3 separate regions of the Homo sapiens genome follow, and all the other regions are linked to region 2. The links are contacts of gene promoters, found by promoter capture Hi-C in blood cells and fetal thymus (Javierre and others, 2016). All regions are on one chromosome and are shown on one strand. Each heading gives the region's core, a stretch centred on a gene start or on the middle of the fragment in contact. The rest is flanking DNA. Distances are from core to core; before and after follow the strand shown. Region 1 holds the start of TRMT10A (tRNA methyltransferase 10A). Region 2 holds the start of PDLIM5 (PDZ and LIM domain 5). Region 3 holds the start of TIGD2 (tigger transposable element derived 2).

Region 1 (3,596 bases), core at 595-3,094, 5.1 Mb after region 2:
ATATATATGTGTGTGTGTGTGTGTGTGTGTGTGAAATTTTACTCCTGCATAAAATTTTAAAAATTTGTGGGGTTCATTCGCAGACATAGGTTATTAAGTGGGCTTACAAACTATCTCACTTTGTAAGGCAAGGACACATCCTACATCAATGAGCACCAAAAGAAAAAAAAAAGTTTTTTAAAACTGCATTAAGTTATGGATTGGGATAAAATAAATAATCGTCGTTAATTTATGACAGTCTCCTTTTCAGAAAAATCTCAACGAATGTGGGAATAATGCAGATTGGAATTAATGACTTGACAGCGATAGCAAAGGAATGCCTTTTTTTTTTTTTTTTTTTTTTTTTTTTGAGAGGGAGTCTTGCTAGGTCGCCCAGGCTGGAGTGCAGTGGCGCAATCTCGGCTCACTGCAACCTCTGCCTCCCGGGTTCAAGCGATTCTCCTGCCTCAGCCTCCCGAGTAGCTGGGACTACAGGTGCGCGCTACCACGCCCAGCTAATTTTTGTTATTTTTAGTAGAGACGGGGTTTCACCACGTTGGCCTGGATGGTCTCCATCTCTTGACCTCGTGATCCACCCGCCTCGGCTTCCCAAAGTGCTGGGATTACAGGCATGAGCCACTGCGCCCGGCCTTTCTTGTTTGTTTGAGACGGAGTTTCGCTCTTGTTGCCCAGGCTGGAGTGCAATGGCGCAATCTCGGCTGATTGCAACCTCCGCCTTCTGGGTTCAAGTAGTTCTCCTGCCTCAGCCCCCCCAGTAGCTGGGATTACTGGCATGCGCCACCACGCCCGGCTAATTTTGTATTTTCAGTAGAGACGGGGTTTCACCATGTTGGTCAGGCTGGTCCCGAACTCCTGACCTCAGGTGATCCACCCGCCTTGCCCTCCCGAAGTGCGGGGATTACAGACGTGAGTCACCGCGCCCGGCCAGGAATGCCCTTTTAAAAGACATGCGGACTAAACGTGGAGGAGCGAAAAGCCCTTTGTTCACTTCAGTTGTCAAGCCTTTTGGGCAGAGGGTTGGGAATGGAAGGGGCAGATGAAATTCTTTCAGAAAGTGACAAGTAATGTGTTGCCATCCTCTTCATATCTGTAGAAAAATTCCCAAATTTAAAGTATTTCAGTGAAATCAAGTAACACTTCGATCTTTATAAAACTGTCCTCAGCTCACAGCACCTGCAGCAACTTCCCCTCGGGCTCTCTACATTTCAGAGAGTTCAGCGACGTCAGCCCTTTGCAGGAAAAATGAGGTAAGGCAGCTTTAAAGAGGTAAAGCCCACGGTCTCTAGCCACGAAGTGGCAGGGCCATAACACGCTTTCCGGCCCTTTAGAGTACAGATTTCCCACTGATTCTTTGCAAACTCACTTTTCACATACTACGGGCCGATGGCAACCCCAAAACACACGCCGACGGAAAGCGCCCCACCACGGGGCGGAGCCTCGCCCACTATCCCTTCTAGGCTCCCAGCCAGCAAACGCATTTCAGAGACGGGATTAAGCTGTCTCTGGCGAACCAGGGAGCAGCTGGGTAGGCCGCGGGGGGCGCCTGTCATCGACGTCATTTCCTTCAGCAAGAGCGCCGCAGGAAACCACTTCCACACCACTGCTCCCCTCTCCCCCGGAAGCCCTTGTTGCTAGTAGGGGGCTGCATGGCACGCGCCCCTTTGCGTCCAGAGAATACCATAGTGCGGGGGAGCGCCAACCAGTGCCAGGACACTTACCGAGCTGAAGAGTTGACAGGGAAGTGAAATCTCAGAAAGAAAGCCTTTCTGGGTTGGCCTGGTTACGGCTCACGCTTCCTTCCACAGAAACTTCAATTCCCAGAGGCAGGGGCGGTAGTTACGCAGTGGAGGCTACGGCGGTTGCGTCTTACGTCATCGAACTGCGGCCATTTCGAACCCGCAATGGAAGAAAGGGGAGGGGTTTATGCGGGGCGGGGTCTGGAGTTAGTGTTTTGGGAGTGGGAGGTAGTTACAGTGATGTCTGTTTTTTCCCGTTCAAGAATTAAGTGTGTACCTGCAGACGTGTATTCATTCATATATTCTTGTGAGTATTGGATGAAGGAATTAAGATAGTCCCACTGTTAAAAATGCAAAACAACGAAGAAAGGCTCCTAATTTTTCTGTGTTGAAAATGAGAGAAAAACATCTCTTGCCTATATTATTTTTAATTTATACAGAAAATTACCATATCACATGATTTTACATAACTCAAGTGGAAAATTAAATTCAAAAAGTGAGTCAGATTCACAATAAAATGCATTTAAATTTAGAATCTGTAAGGCTTTTTTATGGCTGAAGTAAAACAGCCATAGCTTTACTCTTTATTCATTCCTTGAGCTATTTTTCCTATGCTGTTTTGCAAAACATCAGATGACATTTCATTGTTTATAATACTTGACCTTATATAATCTTTTGCTATATATAGATCATGTCAACTGAGAGAGAAATGAAATACAACCCCGTAGATTGTCATTTTCTATTTAGTTTTTTTCTCCTCTACTTCTAATAGGTGATTATTGCAGAATTTGAAGGTAAGAATGAGGTTTGCATCTTGAATAGAAGACTGGCTTCTCATATAGAAAGAATTTTGAAGTAAATTATCCTTGAAGATATTTGAACATGTTTAAAGGCTTCAGTGAATAGAAAATTAAATCCAGAATTTGAGATTCTCTAAAAGAGCCGAAATTTCTTTGACTTTAGTTACAAAACTAAAGTCACTCTTGCCATAAGCCCTTAAATTTTACTTGAAACACTGTATCAGCTATAACACTGTTGTGAGTCCCTCTTCTGTTTCTTCCTCATCTCAAACCTAAAAGATCTTTGTTAACTGAGCACTGGCAAAAAAGTCTGGATCCACTTCTGATCTGTTAGTAGGGCATCTTTTTTCAGCTGCCTCCATATGAGGGCAAAGAGTAGCTGAGGGAGGATTAGTAATTGGATATGTAGCCCTTCACATGTAGGTCATTAAATTCAGGCTGGCAAAGTGATGTGCCAAATCTTTCCACAGCTGTTCAGTTGCTCCTATGGGATCTGTTTTATAAATAATTATACAGTTTTTTCAGAGTTAATACCTGGCCTCCTTAGATATTTTAAACAAAGTTTTAAAGCAAAAAAAACCACTTCATATTCTAATAATGAAGTCAATAAATTTTCTTTTGACATAGACATTTAACTTTGTAGTCATTTGGTGCAAAATTTAAAATGATTCTATTATTAATCCAAAGTAAGCACCAAAAGAGCACCAGCAAAAGTCAATTTAACAAAAAATTGAAACATATAGAAAGTTTAAGACGGTGAAATCATGTGAAACAATATTTTCATTGATTTGTAAAATTTATGTATTTATTTATTTGACACATGTATCGAGTTCTATGCGTTTTGTCTTAGTATTGGTGATACAGAAATGACGAAATCATGCTCTCTGTGCTTAAGGAATCCTTAATCTAATAGGGGAGCCAGCAGTAAATAAATACCATACAACATGTACTTGAGATGCTTGTACTTTGAAAGAAGCAACTAAATGCTCCTTGAGGCAGAGGACATAGTTTTGGAGATTAAATAATTTTGTTTCATCTTGGAAAGTAAGTAGGAGTTGTA
Region 2 (3,519 bases), core at 694-3,193:
TCAAGCCATCTTCTCACCTCAGCCTCCCAAGTGCTAGGATTATAGGTGTCAGCCACTGCACCCTGCTCACGTAAGTAATTTTAAATTATCTAGTGGCCACATTTTTTTTAAAAAGTGAAATTAATTTTAATCAAATATTATTATTATTACTCTTTTTTTTTTGGTGCGGAGTCTTGCTCTGTCGCCCAGGCTGGAGGGCAGTGGCATGGTCTCGGCTCACTGCAACCTCTACCTCCCGGGTTCAAGTGATTCTCCTGCCTCAGCCTCCCAAGTAGCTGGGATAACAGGCATGCGCCACCACACCCGGCTAATTTTTGTATTTTTAGTAGAGACGGGGTTTCGCCATGTTGGCCAGGCTGATCTTGAACTACTGACCTCAGGTGACCCACCCGCTTCAGCCTCCCAAAGTGCTGGGATTATAGGCGTGAGCCGTCGCGCCCGGCCATAATCATGTATCATTTAACAAAACATAAAATATGATGATTTCAGCATATAATCAATATAAAAATTATTGAGGCATTTTACATTATTTTTTCATACCAAGTCGTCGAAATCCAGTGTGCATTTTACACTTCCAACGCATTTCAATTTGGGCATTATATTTTCAACTTTAGTCCTTAAATGTAGTGCTTAAAAGAAATGTTAACGACCTGGCGCGGTGGCTCATGCCCGTAATCCCAGCACTTTGCGGGGCCGAGGCGGGTTGGTCACCTGAGGTCAGGAGTTCGAGATCAGGCTGGCCAACATGGTGAAACCCCATCTCTACTAAAAATACAAAAAATTAGCCGGGCGTGGTGGCGCACGCCTGTAATCCCAGCTACTCAGGAGGCTGAGGCAGGGGAATCGCTTGAACCCGGGAGGTGGAGGTTGCAGTGAGCCGAGATTGCACCACTGATCCCAGCCTGGGAGACAGAGCAAGAATCCGTCTCAAAGAAAAAAAAAGTAAAGAAATGTTATCCTGCTTCAGTTTTAAATGTTAAATTATTTAAAATTACGTAAAACAAAAAATTCATGGTCTCAGTTACAGTAGCCACATTTCAACTGTTCGATAGCCACATGTGGCCAGTGGCTACCGTTAGGGAAAGAGCAGCTTTGGATCTTCGCCTTTGGAATTTTGCTTGCACTTCTGGGGGCCGGGGAGCTCACGGACCTCATGAAGTTCATCCTTGCTTTATATGCTCCTTGGTTAAGAATTGTCCTTTTCACGTTTTATAAGCCAATTCACAGTGTAACAGTCTAGTTACTTTCCGTATGTTCAGTGAACATTATTCACGTTTTCTTATGAATAAATTCCTCGGGCGTATCAAGCAACCCTATAGAAGGCTGGAAAGTGGACTATTGATTTGGATTTAGAAAAATAAACTGAAGATACAGTGGTTGAATCACTTTTGGCCGCTTTTATGTATCACTGTCTTCTGGTGTGATGGACAGGGTTAACTTCTGTTAGGGTTACTGGTTTTCACCTTCCTGACAGGTAAACTTCTGGGTCTGCACTTTTCAGAGCATGTAAAGCTCTTTCAAAAAAAAAAACGCAGGCAGTAACCGCTGAACTTGCATAGATAGAGATTTATCCAAAGTACCCTTCTATTTTTAGGCAGAGCAACTGCTTGCCAATTTAAATTTCTGGAGAGAAAAATGCACCCACTACAAAACGGACGAGCGGAGGGTTAGACCTTTGCCAGGTAGCGCTCAAAATCCGCTAAGACTACTCCCACCGAAACTCGGTAGCGCAGTTGTCTTTCCGCAGCTGCTTCAGCCAGCCCCAGCAAGCCCGAGCGCCCGGCGCCGCCGCCACCTTCCCCGCCCCTGCGCGGCGCGGCTGGGACTGGCCCAGAGGCGTGGCCGGGAGCGGAGGGGCGTGTCCTGGGTCGGGGGTGGGGCGAGGGAGAGCCAGGAGGCGGAAGTTCCCGCGGGCGGTGGGGACGGCGCCCTCACCGCGAGTCACTTGTCAGCCCTTGTCTGAGGCGGAGGCAGCCCCGCGCCGCGCCGGACCCGAGGTGAGTGGCGGCCGGCCGGCGATGCGCCTCTCGGATCTCCGGTGGGAGAAGGGAAAGAACCGGCCGCTGTGCGCCGAACGCGAGAAGGGAAGCCCGGTTGGGGACGAGGAGGGGGCGCTCCTCGGGCAGGGATGGCTCCTCAGGTGCTTTCTGGGCGCGGAGCGGCGGAGGTGGGAGAGCAGCTTGGGAAAAGGAGCGCCCGGAAAAGGGCAGCGCTGGAGTCCGCATGAGGCCAGAGGGCGAGCCCTGGGGTCCCCGCAGCCCGGGCCGACCGGGACCAGCGTAGCGGAGACGGGGACGCGGGAGGGCGCCCGGAGGTGGCGAGGGCCGGCAGGGACGGGCACTGCCGCTCCCACCCACCCGGCTGCCGGCGTCGCCCGGCACCACCGTGGTGTGGTGTCTGAGTGCCCAGTCCTGCGCCAGTCTCTTGGAGGGTAGGAAGCGGGACTCAAAGGAAAAGGCGCGTTAGTTTTTCTTTGCTCCCAGGCTACTGAGAAGCATTTATTTCTCCCCCAGATATTTACAGTTTTGTGTAACCTGTTTGGGGAAAACTTCTGCGCGTCCAGAAATAAAGCTCGTTTAAGAAACACATTTGTCATGAACACGAGATTTGTTAACACTTGAGTACTTGTTGGGGCTTTTGTAAGACTGTGCCTTCGGTGCGTTTTACAATAAGTGGAAAAAGGAAGGGCGTGTGGACAGGGCAGAGCTTGGAAGGAAAATTCGTGGCGGCGCTGGGCAGGGCAGATTTAGGGTGTGATCGCCAGATCCTATCCCAAGTCCGCCTTCCTGACGGGGAGGACGTCTGAACCCGCCTGCCACGGAAACGGCCCGTTCGGTAGCCTTATTTGGCCAACAAGGCTAGGCGCGAATCCCTCCTGGAAAACTGTCCTGTCGGCTGCTTTCATCCTGTGCCTGTGGCTTTAGTTCTTCAGCTCTACCTACATTCTCTCTCCATTGCGGGGAAAGAGAATCTCAAGATATTTCTCTTTAATTTCAGGCCTTTTTTTTTGTCACTCTGTGTAGTTCATCTTGAGTTCTCCTTTCTCCCCTCTCACCCACTAATGAAGCTGAGATACAAGTGTGGGAAATACCAAGCTTCCTTCCCTAGTACTAGAGCAAAGACATTGTTTAGACTTTCCCTAAAAGAAAATCCATAACTCTACAGAAATTCCAACCTTTTCGACGTGTTTGAAAGAGTATGCTGCTATTTCCTGCCTGCTTGGTATTTGAGGAAGGGCTTGGGCACTAATAACCAGATGGAGGAGTCTTGGAAAGGCCAATAAAAATATTGCCATTGCTTGGGGCAGAGACTGTTTTAAGGCAGATGAATTCCAAATGAAGCTAGCAGAAGAAGCATCTAGAAATGAACGGACAGTGACTAGAAATGAAATGACACTGGTTTTGTAGTGTGGCTGTGACCTTGCCAGTGCTAGGAATTTTAATAACAAATGAGAGAAGTTAGGAAGGGAATCCCCAAGTAAAGGGAAGTTGCAAGTACATGGGTTGATAATCTAAATGA
Region 3 (3,771 bases), core at 523-3,022, 5.3 Mb before region 2:
AGCGGTGTTTTGAGAAAATCTAGAAATGTGGGCTGTATCCAGATTTGAACTTACACAAGGTGATAAAAAGGGAACAGCTATAAGACATAAAACAGCAAACTGGAGAATCCAGGAGGAACAGAGAAAAATGCAAATGGTATCTGGAAGAAAATTAAATCCTAGAGATACTGTGGAAAAGAGAGGAAGAGTAAGAGGCAGGATTCCTTTGTATTTAAATATCCTGGGACACAGCTACTCCAGCAGACTCGGGGGAGAGGCGGAAAGGCAGGCGGCTGACATCTGGTTACAGGCTGCCTCATTTCCACATGGGTGGCAGTCGGTAAAGTGCTGTTCTAGCAGTCTTTCACGCTCTTCACAGGTATCAGGGAAAATAAGAATATTTTGTAAAGTTATATAAAACTACCATGAAGTAAGTTATAATGTACCCAAAACAGGCAACCAGGACTTCCAGAAAGGGACTGGCTTGTTGGAAGCCAAATGGAAGGCAGGGAAGAGGGGAGGTCTAAAAGCAGGTATTCTCCAAAAGCCACTTACAACCTCACAACATAACTAGATCAAAGAATTTCTGTCATGCCAGATAGTGGAAGGCTGCTATGTTGAGAAAGGCAATTGAGCAGTTTTGGCGGCGGAGTCAAACAGAAGGCTTAGAATCAACATCTGTTTTCTACAGTATGCTCGCTTTGATTTCCATCTCCAAGTTTCTGAAATTCCAGAAACAGTATATGGCCTTGTCAAAGAAATGACGAATTACTATGTTACTTTGTGTTAACGAAAAGGTTACATTTATGTTCATATGGAAGAGATAATTCACTGAAGAATTTCCAATTTTTCAAACTGACACGCACACACAAGACGGAAAGGAAGGCAGCCTGACCGCGTTTCCCAGGAAACAGGTGGTGCAAGGTGGAGGTGCACCACTCTCTCCTCCAGGAAGGCGGTGACCCTTCCGCAGATGTCTCCGTTGGAAACAAATAAAGGGAGTATCAGTCAAAGCGCAATTCCCCGATTCCACTTGAGAAGCCCCGGGCGTCGAGGCACGGCAGGAAATTTACCACGACGCCTCCCACTGGCTCAAGGGTCTCCCAGGTGCTGTCGATTTTGCAAAGGGTCCGTCTCTACAGCGACTGTGACGAGTTTCGGAGCATCAGCACCGGGGAGCGCTGACCCGACACTCGGCTCTACCGCAGCCCGCCGCGCCTCGGCACCCTGGGCTTGTCCGGCTGGGTGTTGCCGAGCGAACGCCCCAGCTCCTGCCCGGAACCCACGTCCGCCGGCTCCTACCGTGCCTCATGATCCTCGCTCGGGCTAGCACTTTCCACGCGCGCTGACTCTGGGCTCCGACACCTGGACCGCCTCCGCAAGGCGGCGCGGCTGCTGTTTGTAAACACGCCCCACGTGCGCTCGCCCTGCCCCATTCGCAGCCCGCTCCCGGCACGCGAGGATCCTCCGCTTTCCCCCCAGCACTGGGGGGGTGAGATTTTAAAATTTCCCCCTAGGGAGAAAAGAGCCTCGTCGGCAGAGCCGGGCCACTGGGAAAAGCGCCAGGACAAGGCGAGCGTGTGCCTCCCCCTGCCGGCCAGGGAGGCACTGCGGCCCCGAAACGGCCAGGCGGTGAGTGGAACCCACGCAGCGCCTAGAGACGCACCCCTGCCGGGCCCCCGCCCCTCCCGCCCGCTCGCCGGAGTCCCCTCCCCCGGGCCGCGTGCGCTCACCCGCGCAGGCCCCGCCCCCTCGCCGGCACAACGTTCTGCGGGGGCGCGCGCGTGCTCTCTAATCCCCCGCCTTCCGGCTCCGGCGGCGACGCTCGTCCCTCTCCGCTCGTCCCTCGCCGCTGCCGGGCCACCAGTGCCAGCCTGCCTCAGGAGACTCCATTTGCGCTTAGTGTGGTCTGGGCGCCGCGCAGGCGGTCCCAGGGCGATGCCCGGGGCCGGCGGACTGGCGTTCCCTGTGCCAAGCGGCCGCCCGCTGGCTGGCTGGCTGCAGCAGTGACATCCTGGTCGCCGGCGTCCAGGCGGAATCCGGGCTCCCTCCGCGGGAGGAAAGACGTCCCGCGCTCTGAAGCTCGCCCAGCGGGGAGAGGCCCTCGCTAACACGGCTTCTCCCTGACCTCTTAATTTCAGGAGGTAGGCTCTTCAGGTCCCTCTCTCTGTCACCCCAGATTATGCCTGAAAGCATTATTTGTCGTATTTAGCTATCACATTGATAGGAGGCGTTAATTTTCTCAACATAGTTGCAGGATAAATGTGGATAATGCCACAGATCCTGATGTTGAATTGAAAGAAAATGTTTTTGGTATTTTCCTTTAGGTTTCGGAGCCTCCGAGTATCTCTACAGCCCCCACAGGAACTGCTTCTGTTGGTCCATCGAGGATCGTCTTTCACCAGGATTATTGTAACATCATCTTCACCGAGCCTGCCACCCCATAGCCTCTACCTTGGGTCCTCATTTCCACCGATGCAGTTTTTTTGATGCTTTCTTTAGTAATGTGACATCACATGTCCACTATCCTCCTTTCCAGCTGCCAAATCTAGTAGGTTTAAGTCGCTTTTAAAGTAGAGTTTTCTGCCTGTTCCACTTTCACCTTATTTGCACTGTTCACTTCTGTCCGGGTCATCTTCTCTTGCGTATGATTTCCACAAGCACTCACTTGCGCAACCTATAGCAGAGTCCGTGCCTAGAGAGACAGCATTCCATACAATCCACTGCTTGACAAAGACCACATAGTCAGAGGGTGAGTTTTCCCATTGTATTTTCCTGTATGTCAAGTTTGCAAGTCCTCTCTTGACTTAAACTGTTTACTCCCTAGCACATTTCCTAAAATACTTCCACCTGAGATTTAGTGGCTATTCTGGCAAAGAACATTACCTGCAAGGATGGCAAGAATTGAGTATGCAATAGTACTGTTTTAGAAGCCTTACCAGTACAGTTTCTAGCCTCTAGTGTGATTGCACTTCATGAAAGACCCTGAACCCTGAGGAGGAAGAAAGATAGAAGATAAGAGTTAATTGGCGCTAGGCTTTGTTGTAGGAAGTTTGTAAGTTTTAAAATAGCAAGTAGATTCACGTAGACCTTGTCAGGAAATTGGTCACTATCCATCTAGGCCCTAGAAGTGAGAGGAGGAATCTTACGAACTCATTTTCTAGTTGCTTTGTATTCAAATCTTAGTTGTTAATTATCTTGTTCTAGTAATCACCTAAAATATTAGACACTTAAAATGTTGGGGAAACGTAAGCGTGTGGTGTTGACAATTAAGGACAAGCTTGACATTATTAAGAAACTTGAGGAAGGCATCTCTTTCAAAAAACTTTCCGTGGTGTACGGAATTGGTGAATCCACAGTTCGTGATATTAAAAAGAACAAAGAAAGGATTATAAACTATGCAAACAGTTCAGATCCTACCAGTGGAGTATCCAAACGTAAATCTATGAAGTCATCAACATACGAGGAGCTTGATAGAGTTATGATAGAGTGGTTTAACCAACAGAAAACAGATGGGATTCCAGTGTCCGGAACGATTTGTGCAAAACAAGCCAAGTTCTTTTTTGATGCTTTGGGAATGGAAGGTGATTTTAATGCATCGTCAGGCTGGCTAACTCGATTTAAGCAGCGCCATGGTATTCCAAAGGCTGCTGGTAAAGGAACAAAATTAAAAGGAGATGAAACTGCTGCCAGAGAATTTTGTGGTAGCTTTCAGGAATTTGTTGAAAAAGAGAATCTACAACCAGAGCAAATTTATGGTGCTGATCAAACTGGATTGTTTTGGAAATGTCT

The links. The method cuts DNA at HindIII sites, captures the fragments that hold promoters and counts their contacts. A CHiCAGO score of 5 or more calls a contact.
Region 1: a contact is called between the fragment with the promoter of TRMT10A here and the fragment with the promoter of PDLIM5 in region 2, in 7 of 17 cell types (naive CD8 T cells, non-activated CD4 T cells, naive CD4 T cells and 4 more). The highest score is 15.7, in naive CD8 T cells.
Region 3: the fragment with the promoter of TIGD2 here is called in contact with the fragment with the promoter of PDLIM5 in region 2 in 2 of 17 cell types (naive B cells and total B cells); the score reaches 9.6 in naive B cells.

Annotation. Positions count from the first base shown.
Region 1 is chr4:99,562,195-99,565,790 of GRCh38, forward strand. TRMT10A (tRNA methyltransferase 10A) reads right to left here and starts at 1,845. Exons shown (of 8, transcript NM_001134665.3): 1 at 1,719-1,845. It also overlaps a transcript of MTTP not described here. RefSeq lists enhancers at 949-2,148, 1,384-1,513, 1,864-1,923. The HindIII fragment of the contact is 8,482 bases long and covers 1-3,596 here.
Region 2 is chr4:94,449,999-94,453,517 of GRCh38, forward strand. PDLIM5 (PDZ and LIM domain 5) reads left to right here and starts at 1,944. Exons shown (of 13, transcript NM_006457.5): 1 at 1,944-1,997. RefSeq lists silencers at 1,594-2,013, 2,184-2,443. The HindIII fragment of the contact is 3,776 bases long and covers 1-3,093 here.
Region 3 is chr4:89,109,761-89,113,531 of GRCh38, forward strand. It overlaps TIGD2 (tigger transposable element derived 2), which reads left to right and starts at 1,773. Exons shown (of 2, transcript NM_145715.3): 1 at 1,773-2,123; 2 at 2,307-3,771. The coding sequence starts at 3,215. RefSeq lists enhancers at 1,281-1,390, 1,421-1,500 and a silencer at 1,581-2,030. The HindIII fragment of the contact is 10,355 bases long and covers 1-3,257 here.